Linked DNA regions of Homo sapiens: region 1 is linked to region 2. Evidence: promoter capture Hi-C in 16 types of primary human blood cells and fetal thymus (Javierre and others, 2016). All regions are on one chromosome and are shown on one strand. The core of a region is centred on a gene start or on the middle of the fragment in contact, and the rest is flanking DNA. Distances in the headings are between cores, read along the strand shown. Region 1 overlaps LOC105377094 (a long non-coding RNA gene). Region 2 holds the start of SELENOK (selenoprotein K).

Evidence for each region. The method cuts DNA at HindIII sites, captures the fragments that hold promoters and counts their contacts. A CHiCAGO score of 5 or more calls a contact.
Region 1: a contact is called between a fragment that was not itself captured here and the fragment with the promoter of SELENOK in region 2, in 5 of 17 cell types (M1 macrophages, erythroblasts, M0 macrophages and 2 more). The highest score is 8.8, in M1 macrophages.

The regions. Positions count from the first base shown.
Region 1 is chr3:53,360,483-53,364,510 of GRCh38, reverse strand. LOC105377094 (a long non-coding RNA gene) reads left to right here. Exons shown (of 3, transcript XR_940847.3): 2 at 2,404-2,506. Among named protein-coding and RNA genes, the nearest start is that of DCP1A, 15 kb to the right of the region's middle. The HindIII fragment of the contact is 3,016 bases long and covers 1,116-4,028 here.
Region 2 is chr3:53,889,553-53,893,559 of GRCh38, reverse strand. It overlaps SELENOK (selenoprotein K), which reads left to right and starts at 1,701. Exons shown (of 5, transcript NM_021237.5): 1 at 1,701-1,790. The coding sequence starts at 1,772. RefSeq lists enhancers at 1,423-1,722, 1,613-2,513. The HindIII fragment of the contact is 7,183 bases long and covers 1-2,401 here.

The sequences.
Region 1 (4,028 bases), core at 1,374-3,873, 530 kb after region 2:
CAGGGAGACCGAGGTTGCAGTGAGCCGAGGTCGTGCCATTGCACTCCAGCCTGGCCAACAGAGTGACACTCTGTCTCAAAAAGAAAAAAAAAAAAAAAAAGAAAGAAAAACAATTGGATGTGGCATCTTCTCCTGTCCTCTCAGGCTATCCTAACCCTATCCATTCACCAAGGCTCAGTTGCGTTACTGCCTTTTCTGTAATAGCTTCTCTGAGCGCTCTTCATCCGGACACCCAGCCCTAGATATCAGGACCATATACTACTTTATATTGCTAGTTCCCCCCTCTTCTAACTTCTTTTTCTAACTCCTAATTACCTGATGAAAATTTTTTGTTCGTTTGTTGTTTGAGATAGGGTCTCGCTCTGTTGCCTGGGCTGGAGTGCAGTGGCACAATCATGGCTCACTGCAGCCTCAAACTCCTAGTCCCAAGCAATCCTCCCACATTAGCATCCCCAACTGCTGGGATTACAGGCATATGCCACCATGGAAATTTTAATGAGAAGATAAATGGTAACAGGAAGAAAAAAAAGAAAAATCATGGACATTCCACAGATTGGAATCCAGATATGTTCCTAAGATATCCAGAATTAACTCCATTCCAGAGGAAGCATCTTGACTTGGTTGCACCCCATCTGCAGAGGAGGCAAAGCCAAAAACAGACCTTCCAAAGTCCAGTTCTGTGGGAGTGAATGCACTGAGTTACTCAGCACTGAGGAGGCAGGAGACAAGGAAACCTGTGGCTAGCTCCAAAGCAACGCCAGCTCCAGTCACAAAATTAAGAGTTAGGTCAATCACAAGGATCTTTCAAAAATAGTTCCCAGAGTTCTTATGCTATCTAATAAAATTTTATGGACACTAGAATTTTTATGGATTTCTCCTTTCTTGTTTCACAGCTCAGTTTTATTATTTTGCTAGCAAAAAACTATCTTTCATGCTTTGGTGAAACATCCACTATAAAAGCCAGTAGTAGGATAGATCAGGTAAAATACATAATACCTGGCAATGGCCCTCTAGACCACCATGAGTCCATTAGCATTTGTTTATGGGTTTTGCTAAGTGATTTCTTGGAAGCCAAAGGGTTAAGATCCCAGATGAGTCGTGAGGAAGAACAAGCTTGTGGGATGAATGCTGTGGTGGTAAATGCTGGGTCCACCTCTGCACACAGGCTCTGTCATTTCATATATCGAACTGCCCATTTTTCCCTAAATAAAACAAGGGTAATCATACTTGCCCTGTCCCGGATTGAGTTAAAGGAGATAATATATATGGACATTCTACATAATGGGTTAATATAGCAGGGAATATATTGAAGATCAAAGTACCAAAAGCATGGTGCTTTGTTCATTGTGGCAGAGCTCTGATATAGTTTATCAGTATTATTATCCTGGAACTGTAGGCCCAAGATTGTTTTGTCTATTCAAAATTGAACTACCTAATGTGTTCATCATGTAAACTTTGGCCTCTTTATACTTCTACACTTCCATACTTCCATACTTCTATAAATGCTTTTCCAAAGAATCACAATAATTTCTAATAAATCTACCATGGATGTGATCAAAAATTGAAATGCATAAATGTTTATTGGAAGAAACACTACTGAGTCCTCAAAAGCATATTGACTATGTTTTTGGTTTAAAGTTAAAAATATTGGCCAGGGATGGTGGCTCATACCTGTAATCCCAGCACTTTGGGAGGCCAAGGCAGATGGATCACCTAAGGTCGGGAGTTCGAGACCAGCCTGGCCAACATGGTGAAACCCCAACTCTACTAAAAATGTAAAAATTAGCTGGGCATGGTGGCGTGCTCCTGTAATCCCAGCCAAGGTGGGAGAATTGCTTGAACCAGGAAGGCAGAGGCTGCAGTGAGCTGAGATCGCGCCACTGTACTCCAGCCTGGGCAACAGAGCGAGACCTGGTCTCAAAAAAAAAAAAAAAAAGTATTTTAGCACACCATACAAATATCTGATGGTGATGGCTTTAAATAAAACTGATTCAGTCAGGGCAGTGGTGTCTCATGCCTGTAATCACTTTGGGAGGCCAAGGCGGGAGGATCACTTGAGGCCAGGAGTTTGAGACCAGCCCGGGCAACAGAGTGAGACCCCCGACTCTACAACAAAAGTTAAAAAATAAGCCAGGCATGGTGATGCATGCCTGTGGTCCCAGCTACTTGGGAGGCTGGGGTGAGAGGATCACTGGAGCCCAGGAGGTTGAGGCTGCAGTGAACCATGATCACACCACTGCACTCCAGCCTAAGTGACAGAGCGAGACCCTGTCTTTAAAAATAAATAAATAAATAAATAAATAAAACAAGATTTAAAAATTGAGTAGAAGTTGATAGGGAAGCCAAGTCTGTGTTTTCTCCCTTAGCTTTTAACATTTCATTTTCTCCTTATCTGCATCTTAGAGGACAGGTGACCGCAAAGCAGAAGTGATGAAGAGCCAGTCACCATGGCCACATCTTGAGGTCACACAGTCAGCAGTTCGCTTTGCTCACTCAGTCCTATAAAGTGAGTAAGTCTAATGGATGTGGGCCTGCTATGGCCTGCAGATTTGTGTCCCCACCAAATTCATATGTTGAAACTTAATCCCTAGTGCAGTGGTGTTGGGAGGGTGGACATCTGGGAGGTGATTAGGTCATGAGGGTTCCACCTTGATGAATGGGATTAATGCCCTTCTAAAAGATACTTGGGCCGGGCGCGGTGGCTCATGCCTGTAATCCCAACACTTCGGGAGGCCGAGGCTGGTGGATCACCTGAGGTCAGGAGTTTGAGACCAGCCTGGCCAACACAGTGAAACCCCATCTCTACTAAAAATACAAAAATTAGCTGGGTGTTGTGGTGGGTGCCTGTAATCCCATCTATTCAGGAGGCTGAGGCAGGAGAATTGCTTGAACCCGGGAGGTGGAGGTTGCAGTGAGCTGAGATAGTGCCATTGTATTCCAGCCTGAGCGACAAGAGAGAAATTCCATCTCAGAAAAAATAAATGAATAAGTAAAATAAAAGAGACTTGGGGGAGCCTGTTTGCCTTTCTGTTATGTGAGGATGCGGCAAGAAGGTGCTATCTGTAAAGCAGAGAGCCCTCACCAGACACTGACTCTACTGTCACCATGATCCTGGTGCCAGCCTTCAGAACTGTGAACTATTCATTTATGTTCTTTATAATAGTCTAAGGTATTTTGTTACAGCAACTCAGATGGACTAAGACAGGGCCTAACTCATATTTTTAGAAAAGGTCAGTCCTCTTTTGTTTCACAATGTTAACATGTTGACCCTCCACCAGACTTAAGAATAATGTAAACTCATTGGTTTTGCCTCTGAAACCTATTTTGCATGACCAGTCTCTGGTCTGAAAGGACAAAATCCAAAGACTGCTCTTTTTTTATGGTCAGTGATACCCTTTATGGATACCTTTTAAAAAGATCATTTGACCCACATCAGAAAAGATCTATACTATTGTAACTTTCAAAATCAGTTGCTTACCTGGAAGAGGATTACATAAAAATAAATTAATTAATGAATTAATTAAAAATCAGTTGATTTCTTTTAGGGGAAGAAAAGACTCCTTGCTCATTCTGAGAAGGCACAGCAAAATATGACATTAAGATTACCCGTCAGTTTGGCCAGGTACAGTGGCTCACCCCTGTAATCCCAGCACTTTGGGAGGCCGAGGAGGGTGGATCACAAGGTCAAGAGATCAAGAACATCCTGGCCAACATGGTAAAACCCCGTCTCTACTAAAAATACAAAAATTAGCTGGGCGTGGTAGTGCACACCTGCAGTCCCAGCTACTCTGGAGGCTAAGGCAAGAGAATCGCTTGAACCCGGGAGGTGGAGGTTTCAGTAAGCTGAGATCGTACCACTGCACTCCAGCCTGGGAGACAGAGCAAGACTTCGTCTCAAAAAAAAAAAAAAAAATTAAGATTACCTGTCAGTTTGATGCAGCTGACGTATTTCTAACAATTACAAGCTACAAGGCACTGTTTCCTTCGTGTGCCTTTCAACAGATCTGTTGGCTGCTTTCTATAGATGA
Region 2 (4,007 bases), core at 452-2,951:
CAAATCAATTATCAGACAGTTTCACAATGTGAATTACTATGAAGAAAATAAACACGGAGATGAGTGGCCAGGGAAGGGCACCCAGAAGTGGTGACAACTAAGCAGAGGGCTAAAGGATAAAATGAGCTGGATGTGCAAGGAGTCCGAGGAAGAGGGTTCCAGGTAGAGGGACAAGTATGGGCAGAGTCCTGGAGGTATCAGTAAAACCCGGGGTGTTCACAAACTAAAACAACAATGTTGCCAGAGCATAATCTGGGTGGGGGTGTTCATAAACTAAAACAACAATGTTGCCAGAGCATAATCTGGGTGGGGAGATGTGGCTGGAAGTACAGTGAGAGGAGCAATCAAGAGGACAAGTCACCTTGGGCCTGCAGGCCATGACAAGGAACTGGATTTTAAGAGCAATAGGAAGTCACTAAATTTTAGTGTCCAAAAGGTTTTAGGCAAGGGAACGAGATGATCTCCGTTTTAAGATCGATCTTGCTACAGTTTGTAAAACTGCCTAAGGATGGTAAAAGACTGAACCTGAGATTTCATTTAGAAGGAAACTAGCGTAGAGCAGGTGAGAGATGATGGTGGCATGGTCTAGATTAAGAAAGGCCCTTGGGAAAATTAACGGCCCTGCCCTAATATTTTTGCAGAAATGATCCTTTATGATTGTGCTGCACAAATCCCAAATGAGGTGAAGGATGTTGTCTTGTCCTATTATGAACTTTTCTGGGGAAAATGCTCTCTCCAAAATCAACATAAAATTAGATCTTTGTCAGTTCTAAGTATTAGAACATAAAATCTTAACCAAAGTTGTTAAACTCAAAATAGATTTTCAGCATGTAATTTTCATTTTCTGGAAGGTGATTAGGAATCTTTCCAAAGAGATGACACATGGCTTGAGAACTGGGGGCGGGAAGTCAAAGGAAGCAGCCATTAGGTCTCCACGCTGAAAGAATAGCTAAGTGCAGAGGCCTTGAGAAGGGAATGAAATGGCCACGTTCAAGGAACAGAGGCAGCCCACTGGCTGTAGCAGAGTAAATATCCATGGTATGTGGTCCACATTTACTGAATGTCCAAGACATGTCTTCTAATTCGTCTGTCACCAAAGTGGTCATAAGCAGTCGCCATCAATAAGAAACAAGCAGAGAAAGGGCCTACAGTTCAATTTATTTTTCAGTTGCCTCACAAAAGGCTAAGAAAAACTTAGTTTCTGGTGAACCCAGGTAGACATGCTCATTTTAAAGAGAATGAATATATCTAGGAAGAGCCTGGCAGTATATTCCCAAAGGCGTGACAATAAAGTTCCTTAACGTGTAGTCAGCACCCTCAAACGTCAACACGTCTGGAAAATTCGGAAGCGTTTCCTCCTGTCAGCGGCCCTTCAAGCTACCTCATACAGGGCAGCCTCTCCTACCCAGACCCGGAGCCTATCAATCGACGAGAAAACAGCTTCCCCTCACTGGGCGGTGCGAACCAACTCTGCACGATCAAGTCGGATAGAGGACTGGCAACCGCGGGCACTACAGGGCAGTCCTTAACGTCATATCCGGTTGTCAGCTCGGCCGCCTCCGCCTAACCAGAAGTCGCAGATGTGACGATGCAAAAACGCCCGTCGGGGGCGCGTCTCTTTCAGCAGCCAATGGGCTCTGCCCACCTTCGTCCTCGTCAGCATTTTGTCTAATCGCGGCCTGTGACGCTCGAAGGGCGGGGAGCAGAGGGAGATACAGAAACCGACAGGGGCCAGGCGCCCGGTGGCTCCGAAGCGGGGAAGTGGGACAAGATGGTTTACATCTCGAACGGTAAGTTGAGAGCGGGCTGTGGCTTCGACCGGTGACTTGTAAGATCGGACTCCAGGTTCCTTTCATCGTCGCTCGCTGAGTCTTGAGCCCGGTGCGGCTTCCCCGGGCTTAGCGCCCCGCGGCCGGGCGGAGCTGGACCGAAGTCGCCTCGGCTTGCGGCGCGTCAGCCGATGGTCTCTGAGCCGGCAGTCGGGGGCCGAGGTCCCGCCGGCCTCACGTTGAGTACTGGGAGCCCTGCAACCCCGCCTTCGTGCAGCAAGCGCTTGATTGTGGATTTGCGAGGGTGGTCTTTCCTCTCTCGGGTGTCGGTATCCTTAAAACTAGTAAGGACAATGATGCCGACGCTGTACACGTAGCGCTTGTGCCCTGGACAGTGTTTCAGTTATTTGCTTATCGTCACATTCAATCCTGTTTTACGGGTGGAAACTCTGAGGCTCAGATAGATTAAATAGCTTGCCTGGGCTATTTAAGTCACAGAGGTAACTTAATGGCTGAGTCGGGATTCGATCACAGGTAGGCTGACGTCAGCGTCCTTGTTATCTGTTATGCTGCCTCTGTCTACAACGTGTAAAAAGACCGAGCCGACCTAGGATGATAATTAGATGAAAGCTTTGCATAGGCTTTTTCCCCAGGAAAGGGTAGCTAGTCAAACATGGAATTTTTTGCTCGAATTTCAAGGGGCATGGGAAGAAGTACTATCTTCCCCTAGGAGCAAGTTAATTATTACCGGAATGGAGAATCCGAGAGACTTAATTCTGCGAACCCACAAAGAAGATGACCGGAAAGGAAGGACATGACTGTGTCAGATCAGTGCTAGAGCTGCCTGCCCACCTGTTTGACTCAGGTGAAATTCTTTGGTACAGTCTTAACAAGGAGTTGTGGATCATTGGAACTAGGTCTTGGTTCTATTTGAGTCATCTGTTTTTCTCCAGAGACGAGTAAGGTAGTCAGTGAGGAGCCTTCTGGCTGACTGCACTTTTGCATTTCTTGACTTTTAAAAATCTCCCCTTCTCATCTCCCACTTAAAAATCTTTGAAACAAGTAGATTGATGGACACTACAGAAAAGCATCAAAATTTCATCTTAGTTTTGGGCGCTTTCAGACTTTAGTCTGTTTTATAGCCTGTTTTATAGCCTTTGTGATATAAGCTTAAGGCTGGAAGCTTCTGTATGAATTATTGAATAATTCCTTGTATTTGTTGTGTCTTACTGTGTTCGCATTATTTCATTTGGTCCACATAAGTAGCCGATTAGGACTCTTTATCGTACTTTAAAAGTTGAGAAACACAACTGCATTCAAACACCTTACTTCTCTCTGGGGATATTGGTGGAAGGGACATTCTGCCTTAAGAAAGGGAAAGTGGAAAAGCAAGATAGAATCACAGAGGAAGAAATGACAGGTTCCAATTAGATCCACCTTCTTAGGACTGTATTATCAGCACTTGACAAAATCTTTCTCTTGCTGTCAGATGACTTTTTTTTTTCCAAAAATCTTATGTGATGGCTAGCCCTGGAATACTTTTTGTTGGAGAAAGAAAATGTCACATCAGCCAACGAAGCAGAGCTAGTAAGAGGCAGAGAACTAAGCCTGTCACCCACCCTCTAAACTTTTGTAGCCCCTTGCTCTCAGTAGCACAGTGAGAGCTTAGATCCAAGTGGGTATCTGAAATTAAGCTGGTCAAGAAAAGAGGAAAAGTAAACCCTCATGGAGTGGGTAGAGGTGAGTGGGGTTAACTCTTGGGATAATGGAAAGGAGAGGTAGTTGACAGTTACTCTTCCCCGAAAATATTCTGACATCTTGATTTGCAAGGCTGAAATATAGTGTACCAACTTATGTTGTAGCTTCTATTAAAGTGGTTTGAAAAATAGATCCAGTTTTGCTTAAGATAAAGCTAGAGTCTATTAGAATTAAGAGTATGCTGTTATAGAAAACAGTAGTTATTTTAATGAAGAACAAGCCAAATTCTCTTTAGTACTTAGAGCATACACACTCTTTATAAGAATTTTATAAAAATAACTGATTCCAAAGACTTGTAAGAGTATGAATACGCAATCTTTTTATACAGGCAAGAGACTTTGCAAATGAAAAGAAATACTCAGCATGTTTAGGAATATGGAAGTGGTGTGAGCATTCCTTTATATTCACCCGTCCCATTTGTTTCTTCAAAGTACTTGAATAAAGAGGTATTTTTACACCCATGTTGATAGCAGCATTATT